Regions from separate parts of the Homo sapiens genome. Here region 2 is linked to region 1. The links are contacts of gene promoters, found by promoter capture Hi-C in blood cells and fetal thymus (Javierre and others, 2016). All regions are on one chromosome and are shown on one strand. The core of a region is centred on a gene start or on the middle of the fragment in contact, and the rest is flanking DNA. Distances in the headings are between cores, read along the strand shown.

The links. Contacts are between HindIII fragments. The CHiCAGO score rates a contact against its expected background, and 5 or more counts as called.
Region 2: a contact is called between a fragment that was not itself captured here and the fragment with the promoter of OR13J1 in region 1, in 1 of 17 cell types (neutrophils). The highest score is 5.6, in neutrophils.

Annotation. Positions count from the first base shown.
Region 1 is chr9:35,868,163-35,873,259 of GRCh38, reverse strand. It overlaps OR13J1 (olfactory receptor family 13 subfamily J member 1), which reads left to right and starts at 2,859. Exons shown (of 1, transcript NM_001004487.1): 1 at 2,859-3,797. The coding sequence starts at 2,859. The coding sequence ends at 3,797. The HindIII fragment of the contact is 7,651 bases long and covers 1-4,152 here.
Region 2 is chr9:35,778,411-35,782,931 of GRCh38, reverse strand. It overlaps a transcript of RGP1 not described here. Among named protein-coding and RNA genes, the nearest start is that of NPR2, 11 kb to the left of the region's middle. The HindIII fragment of the contact is 8,666 bases long and covers 1-4,521 here.

The sequences.
Region 1 (5,097 bases), core at 1,610-4,109:
AGCAGCACTATTCGTAACAGTCAAAAAGTGGAATCAACCCAAATGTCTATCAACTGATGAATGGGCACATAAAATGTGGTATATCCATACAACTGAATATTAATTAGCAATAAAAAGAAAGTAAGTCCTGATACATGCTACAATATAGATGAACCTTGAAAACATTAAGCTAAGTAAGAGAAACCAGTCACAAAGGGAAACATATTTTATAATTTCATTTATGTAAAATGTCCAGAATAGGCAGCTCAAAAGAGACAAAAAGTAGATTAATGGTTTCCTAAGACTGGAGGAGGTTGAGGGGAAAAGGGGAGTGATGGCTAAAGGGTATGGGCTTCCTTTGGAAGTGATAAACATGTTCTAAAATCAACTGTGGTGATACTCAAAACTATTGCATTGTACACTTTAAATTCACCCGTTGTACACTTTAAACTCACCCATTTAAAGTGTACAATGCAATAGTTTTGTATTTGAATTGTACATTTTAAATGGGTGAATTTAAATGGGCGGCTGCATGGTGTTTGAATTATAGCTCAATAAAGATGCTATTTTTAAAAAGAACTAACCATTGATTCACACAACATGGATGACTCTCAAAATAATCACGCTGAGTGAAAGAAGCCAGATTTTAAAAAGAGTACATTCTGCATAATTCCCTTTATGTAAAATGCTAGAAAATGAAAGTAATCTACAGTTACAGAGAGCAAATCAGTGGCTGCCTGGTTGGGGAAGAAAGGAATGGATTACCAAGGGGCATGAGAAAAATTGTGGGTATATTAGATAAGTTCATTATCTTGATTGTGGTCATGGTTTCATGACTGTATACATTAAAACTAATCAAATTATATGATTTAAATATAGTTGTACATCAACCATCCTTCAATAAAGCTGCAACAAAAAAGCATACTAAAAAGTCACAAGACCTATTTCCATGTATAGATATACATATGCAAATGGCCAGAAAAGTATCTGGATAGATATACACAAAACTAATAACAATAGTTACTTTTGGAAAAGTGGGAGAGTGGGAAGGGTGGGTGAGGCTGGGTATGGAAGAGTGAGGGAAGGGTGAGGCTGGGTATGGGAGAGTGGGAAGGGTGGGTGAGGCTGGGTATGGGAGAGTGGGGGGAGGGTGAGTCTGGGTATGGGAGAGTGGGAAGGGTGGGTGAGGCTGGGTATGGAAGAGTCAGGGGAGGGGGAGGCTGGGTATGGGAGGGTGGGGGAGGACAAGGATGGGTATGGGAGAGTGGGAGGGGTGGGTGAGGCTGGGTACGGAAGAGTGGGGGGACGGTGAGGCTGGGTATGGAAGACTTGGGGGTCCTCTCTGCCTAGGAAGGGTTTGCACTCAGCAGCCTGGGAGCACACCTGTCATCAGTGCTCCCTCACATCTGGCACCACCTGACATGTAGCAGGTCCTCAGTTACTTCTAGGTTCTGGGATGAGTAAGTGAGGGTGGAATAAAAGACGGAAATGGTCTCCTGCAAGGAAGGCACTGAGAGGAACTGTGCTCCACCCAGGCCCAGGATTTGGCATCGTGTCCCATGGGATTAATGACACCGTGCCAGATACCCTGGAACACTAAGGAGAGGTGACTCATGCTCTTTTGCTGGTGAGAGGATTGTGGCAGCACCTGGGGCACTGATATCCATCTAGAATGGTAAAAGAACAAGCATTGTTTGAAACCTAATAGAAGCATACACCTGCTCTGAGCATGGTATAGGGGTCACACTGTTGGGAGGGCTGGATTCTAGCTTCACCTCACCAGAGACCTGTTGTGTGACCTCAGCATCCCCATCTATACAATGGGAGATCCAACAAGTTGGCCTCTGGTCATGTTCCATGCTAATACCCTAGGAGTTCATGAAGTCAAAGCAGCCCTCGCTCTGGCCCACAGAACATAGGGGTTTGGAGCTGGGCCAAAAGCTCCATCAGATTTTAGCTGGGAAACCCACAGGAAGGCAGATTGTGAAGGTCCAATCCACACAGGGTAGCTAATGAAACAGGCCCTGGGCAGGGGACAGGGGAACATGCCCAGCGATAGGCTTCAAGGTCAGCAGCCCTCCAACACACAGCACGGTGTATGCTTTGTTCATGGATACTAGAGTAGGCCTGAAGAGACAGGTCAGACCACTGCAGGCCGAGGACATTCCAGACAGAAGGAATAGCAAATGCGATGGCTCAGAGGCTTCCTTAAAGCCAGGAGAATCTCCACCTGCTCAGAGACCACCTAGCCCACTAGTTCCTCAAAGTGTGGTACCTACATCAGCAGCAGAAGCATCGCCCAGACGCACCGAGTCAGAAACTGGGTTTGGGGCCCAACAATCTGTTTTAACAAACTTTCCAGGTGATTCTGGTGCATGTTAAAGTTTGAGAACTGTTGATCTAGCCTACTGTTTCCCAGACTATGCTCATAGAACACTTATCTGCAGTAGGTTAATGGGTTTTCTGTAAAAGGGGATCCATGATCAAATAAGTTTGGGGTACAGATGTTCTACATTGCTTTGCAGGAGTCATAGATCACATTAGCGTAGTAAACGCTCTGAGAAGTCCTGCAGTAAAGAGCTTTATTTTTTATTAATCCAATGTTGTCTCAAATTGATTTTTCAGATTGCTTACTAATGTTCTCATTAACATTCTCTCAGGGAATGCTGATCTAAATCAATGCTCATTTTTCACATGGATAAACTGAGGCCTAGAGAGGATAAAGGGATTGCCCGACGTCACAGACAGTGAGTGTGGCAGTGCTGGAAAAGATCCTGACAGTCCACCTCGTCCCAGAAAGGGCTCTGTGAGCTTCCCCGCACCCTGTACCCTCTCTCCTTCCATCCCAGCTGTGGACCATCTCTTCAGAACTCTGCAGCATGGAGCCGCTCAACAGAACAGAGGTGTCCGAGTTCTTTCTGAAAGGATTTTCTGGCTACCCAGCCCTGGAGCATCTGCTCTTCCCTCTGTGCTCAGCCATGTACCTGGTGACCCTCCTGGGGAACACAGCCATCATGGCGGTGAGCGTGCTAGATATCCACCTGCACACGCCCGTGTACTTCTTCCTGGGCAACCTCTCTACCCTGGACATCTGCTACACGCCCACCTTTGTGCCTCTGATGCTGGTCCACCTCCTGTCATCCCGGAAGACCATCTCCTTTGCTGTCTGTGCCATCCAGATGTGTCTGAGCCTGTCCACGGGCTCCACGGAGTGCCTGCTACTGGCCATCACGGCCTATGACCGCTACCTGGCCATCTGCCAGCCACTCAGGTACCACGTGCTCATGAGCCACCGGCTCTGCGTGCTGCTGATGGGAGCTGCCTGGGTCCTCTGCCTCCTCAAGTCGGTGACTGAGATGGTCATCTCCATGAGGCTGCCCTTCTGTGGCCACCACGTGGTCAGTCACTTCACCTGCAAGATCCTGGCAGTGCTGAAGCTGGCATGCGGCAACACGTCGGTCAGCGAAGACTTCCTGCTGGCGGGCTCCATCCTGCTGCTGCCTGTACCCCTGGCATTCATCTGCCTGTCCTACTTGCTCATCCTGGCCACCATCCTGAGGGTGCCCTCGGCCGCCAGGTGCTGCAAAGCCTTCTCCACCTGCTTGGCACACCTGGCTGTAGTGCTGCTTTTCTACGGCACCATCATCTTCATGTACTTGAAGCCCAAGAGTAAGGAAGCCCACATCTCTGATGAGGTCTTCACAGTCCTCTATGCCATGGTCACGACCATGCTGAACCCCACCATCTACAGCCTGAGGAACAAGGAGGTGAAGGAGGCCGCCAGGAAGGTGTGGGGCAGGAGTCGGGCCTCCAGGTGAGGGAGGGCGGGGCTCTGTACAGACGCAGGTCTCAGGTTAGTAGCTGAGGCCATCGTATGCCAATGCCAGTGAAGACATGGCAGGGCTGGGGCTACAGGTCTGGTATCTTCATCCCAGCAAGGCAGCACCAAGTCCCGCTGATCCTGCCACAGAACAGCCCCCAAATCACCCTCTGCTCTCAGCATCACCCTGGCCTTCACACCAGCCTCCTGGCTGGTCCCAAGACTTCAGTCCTGTTCCTCCCTCCAATCTCTCCTTCATGGGGCATCTTTTTGAAATGCACATGTGATTGCATCACTCTTCTCACTGAAATCCCTAGGTGGCTCCCCACTGTTCTCAGAACAAAGTGGAAGCTTTTCAGTGGGGCATTTGAGGCCCTCACAAGCTGGCCCTGCCTGACTGGCTCCCCAGCCTTCCTCCCCTCCCACCCCATCTCCCTCCTCACAGCCACACACACCAGCCAGTTGTGGCCCCCACATGCCCTGCACCACCCAGCTCTGTGCTCTCCTTGTTTCTCCCCACGAGGCAGCACCCCCTCCCCTATCCCCAGCACACTTCTCCATATGTAAAAGGACTGACTGCCTGACCCTTCAGGCCCAGCTCAAATGCCACCTCCACCAGGAAGCCACCCCACCTTGCTCCTCTTGCTGTGCCCCTCTGTGTTTTCAGCATTACTCCAAGAGCAGGGAGTGTCAGATTCTACTCTCTCCCAAGGTCCAGCCTTGCCCAACTCTAGGCCCTGCACAAGTTTCTTAAATAGAGATATTAACATGTCAATGTAGGGGTGACAATGGCAGAGCCTAGAGTTCTTCCCAAAACTGAGCAGAGCTGAGACGGAGTCCACAGATGACGAGAATGGCCCAGCTTCCCTGGTAGGTGACAGTAGAGGCAGCAATGAGGCCTGTATTAGTCAGGGTTCTCTTAGAGGGACAGAACTAATAGGATAGAGGAGTTTATTAAGTATTAACTTACACGATCACAAGGTTCCACAATAGGCTGAGGAGCAAGGAGAACCAGTCCGAGTCCCCAGACTGAAGAACTTGGAGTCCATTGTTCAAGGGACGGAAACATCCAGCATGGGAGAAAGATGTAGGCTCGGAGGCTAGGCCCGTCTCTCCTTTTCACGTTTTTCTGCCTGCTTTATATTCACTGGAAACTGATTAGATCATGCCCACCAGATTAGGGTGGATCTGCCTTCCCCAGCCCACTGACTCAAATGTGAATCTCTTTTGGCAACACCCACACAGAACACACCCAGGATTCATACTTTGTATCCCACGATCCAAAGAAGTTGACACTC
Region 2 (4,521 bases), core at 1,745-4,244, 90 kb after region 1:
GAGGCTGAGACACGAGAATCGCTTGAACCGGGGAGGGGGAGGTTGCAGTGAGCCGAGATCACACCATTGCACTCCAGCCTGGGCAACAAGAGCAAAACTCAGTCTCAAAAAAAAAAAAAAATTAAGTAACTTATTTCATAGTTGGTGTACTTTATTCAATAAAATAGTTAAAAGTCTGTTTTATCTGGCCTGGCGTGGTGGCTCACACCTGTAATTCCAGCACTTTGGGAGGCCAAGGAGGGTGGATCACCTGAGGTCAGGAGTTTGAGACCAGCCTGACCAACATGGAGAAACCCCGTCTCTACTAAAAATGCAAAAATTAGCCAGGCGCGATGGCACGCGCCTGTGATCCCAGCTACTTGGGAGACTGAGCAGGAGAATCATTTGATTCCAGGAGGCGGAGATTGCAGTGAGCCGAGGTCGTGCCACTGCACTCCAGCCTGGGCAACAGAGCGAGACTCCGTCTCAAAAAACAAAAACAAAAACAAAAAACCTTGTAATAATAAAGTTAGATTTCAATTTAAAATTGTGTGAGTGTTTTATTTTAAGGAGCTCATGAACAAAAATATTTGAGCTCTGCAGCTCAAAATAACACTTTGAAAATCAGTGACTAAACAATGACTCTTGATGCTACCAAACCTAAATCTTCCTTCTAATAATTATTTTCTAACGGCACCTTTACTAACTTAAAATAAAATGCATAGATAATACAACCTATCTCTACACATAATTTCAAAACATCAATAAAATTTCCTACCTGTAATATAGAAGAGAAATAATAGCCGGGCATAGTGGCAGGCGCCTGTAATCTCAGCTACTCTGGAGGCTGAGGCACAAGAATCCCTGGAACCCGGGAGGGGGAGGTTGCAGTGAGCCGAGATCACACCACTGCACTCCAGCCTGGGCAACAGAGTGAGACTCTATCTCAAAAAAAAAAAAAAAAAAAAACGAGAGAAATAAAAGACAATAACTTATTTTAAAAACAGGTATTTCAATATGTAAATGGTTGGATATAACTGTGATAGAACACCAAAGGAGGCACTCAGCTAATTGTAATTAGATGCTTCCATCTAATTACAGGGAATGAATAAATTTTGATTTAAGAGATCTGAAGCCACTCCATAAAGAAAGATACTGGATTAAACACCAGTGTTAGGATAAGCAATAACAGAACAGATGTATTTATATATATATTTATATATAACACCCTACACAACTGTTTGGTGGAATATTTGAAGACTGTGCAGAACTCAGGATATCTAAATCATGCCGAATTCAGGACATTTATTTGACACCTAAAAGGTATTGCCAGTGTCAAGGTACAAGGATTAACAACCAAAACAAGGTGAAATTCCTTCTCTCATGGAATACATTCTTAATTATGTGGAACTGTCCTCACATTGCAGAGTCTAACATCTGCGGCCTCCAACTACTACAATGCCAGTAGCACCCACTCTCATCACTATAGCAACCAAGAAAATGCCCCTTCCCCTCCACCCCCTCCTGCCTGCCCCCCCACCCCCTCCCCCCACCCCCACTATCTCCTGCGCACCCACCACGGACCAAAATGCCCCTCCAGGAAAAGTACTACTGCTGTTCAGAGCCACTAGCCTGCAGGATGGAGAACAAGAATCTCAGTCCACCAGGTGGTCCTGGCTCCATCTTCCTCTCCAGCCTCCTCTGCAGCCACATATGCCTTCTAAACATATAGAGCTATCTATAGTCCTCTAAGTGGGTCATGTTATTCTATGCCCATGGGTTTTCTGTCAGCCTGAAATGTTTTCTCTTCCCTTGAGTTCTAATTAGTCTTTTTTGAGGCTTACTCAGGCCACTTTTCAATTTAATTTAATACATTTGTTTTAAAGTAGGTACTTTCTGCCCCATTAGATTGTGTATTCCATGAGAAGGAATTTTATCGTCCTTAATCTTTGTACCTTACATTGGCAGTATATTTTAGAATTCAAATAAATGTTTTCTCAATGGATATATGAGTATGGATGAAGGGATTCACTTTATTTTTATTTATTTGGTCATATTTTGAGACAGAGTCTCACTCTGTTACCCAGGCTGGAGTGCAGTGGCGCCATCTTGGCTCACTGCAACCTCCATCCCCCGAGACTCAATCAATCCTCCCACTTCAGCCTCCCAAATAGCTGGGACCACAGATGCACACCACCACGCCTGGTTGTTTTTTGTTTGTTTGTTTGTTTGTTTTGTATTTTTGGTAGAGATGGAGTTTCACCATGTTGCCCAGGCTGATCTCAAACTGCTGAGCTCAAGTGATCCACCCTCCTCATCCTCCCAAAGTGCTGGGATCACAGGTGTGAGCCACCGTGCCCAGCCAGGGATTCACTTTAAAAGAAAAAGAAATTCCTCTGAGACTGCAGGGAAAGGTGGAACAATGGATTCAGGGATAGATTTCGTGACGGATAAATTTAACTTATCTGTTGAGCATTGAGCTTGGTCAGGTATAAACATAACCTGCCACCCATCAGTCTTCATCTGTGCCATGACAAATGTCTCCTTTGTACCTCTTCACAACATCATGGTCAGAGTCCATAACACTCTGCTCCCTTTTGGTTATTTAAAGACTCAGTCCGATATGGCTTAAAACTCCAGTCTCAGGTCCAATGCAGAACTCATCTTAAGCCATGGCTTAAGGAACCTGCGGTGGAGAGAAGAATATGATCCCTTCTATTGATTCTGCTTCTCCTCTTCTAGTTCTCTGGAAGGTTCTCTAGAAGGGTTTTAGCTCCTTGGTGGTTGAGAACTAGGAGGAGGGCAGGGAGGAAAAGAACAACTCTCTTTTTATTTAACAAGGTAGTTATCACAAACCACTGTTTGCTGACAGACCATGCCAACCTGTTGTTTGGCAGATGTCAAAATGCTATCTTTCTTGCACATGGTGGCTCATGCCTGTAAGCCCAAGGCATTGGAAGGCTGAGGCAGGAGGATCACTTGAGCCCAGGAGTTTGAGACCAGCCTGGGCAACGTAGAGAGACCCTGTCTCTAAGAAAATTTTTTTTTAATTAGCCGAGTGTGGTGGCACATAACCTGCAGTCCCAGATACTCAGAAGGCTGAGGCAGGAGGATCACTTGTGCCCAAGAGATTCAGGCTGCAATAAGCCATGATCACAACACTATACCCCAGCCTAGGCAACAGACCCCATCTTAAAAAAAAAGATGCTGGCTCTCTTATGAGACAGTTATGTGAGTTCTTTAGAAGGTCCTACTGGGCTTCTCCACTGAGTTGTGCCCTAATGCAGAGAATCCTGATCCAAGCCATCTCTTTAACCCTCCTAACTTCTGTTCAGTGGCAGCCTTTTGGATGGGTTACCAGCATGATGGCTCAAGCCCGGCGATCTTCCTCAGTGTCCCTTTGATCACAGAAACTCACATACCCTTGCTAAGCCAAACAGAATGAATGCAGACTATTCCACTACTATCCCCTTACTCTGCCCTTCCTCCTTTCTCTAATTGCCTTTCCTCTTCTCAGACAGGTGCGGAGCTGAACAAATCCACTGTCTAAACAGATAGTTTAACCAAGGAATGAGAAATCAATCTCTCTTTCATGTAGATCTCTTTCATACTCCCTTGCTTACTTTAAGGGGGGAAAGGAGGGAAAAGTACTCCCTGCTAGGCTCATGACAGCCTCCCTTCAGTCATCTTTTATCTTATATAGCCTGGGAATGGAGGTGGGGTGGTAAGGTATGGGTTGGCTGGAAGTTGCAGGGCCACTTCTGCTACCTCTTTGTAAGCCCTGGAGAGGAGCTCTGATCCAATTATTAGCAACTCTCTCTAGAACGTGCAGTATTTAGTCCTCTTTGTCCCAGCTTTGGACCCTAGTCACCAATTCCAGGGCAATAGAAAAAAACCTTACTCAACATCCTCTATAATATATTGAAATGAAGGGAAGGTTATATGAAATAAGGAGCTCAACTGCATTCCTCAATGGGGAAGCAAAGTCATCTTTTGAGTGACAGAAGGAACCAGGAGTTTGAAAGTTCAGGCAGAATAAAGAAGACAGAGATAGACTGGAGATAGAACATCAGATGAAAGCCATGTATACTCTCTTTTCCCCATTAAAATATAAAAAGCACATATACATATTATTCCACAACATTTTACATATCATTTCAGGTGCACGTGGATCTAGGAGCTAAAGGATCCCAGATTAACAAGCCTTGGGCTTAAGAGAAAGCAAACAGGAAGGCGAATGTGCATTATTTGTGCATTCGAGAGGAGGGAGTGGGTATGTAGGCAGGCAAAGCCAATGCACAAAAGGAAGGCTGGACATTTAGGGACTTGCATCCACCCAGAAGCCATCCATGTCAGACACCAGTTTGACATGTCATATTATATTCCAAAGTATTCTGACTGCTTGAACACTTTTGTATATTCAGCTTATTTTTCAGTATAATGTTGTGATACATCCTTCTACAGAGTTAATATGATTAATAATTGAGGGACTTTAGAGAAGGGGCCAGAAATTTAATTATGCTTTAAAACGTAGCTTTTGGA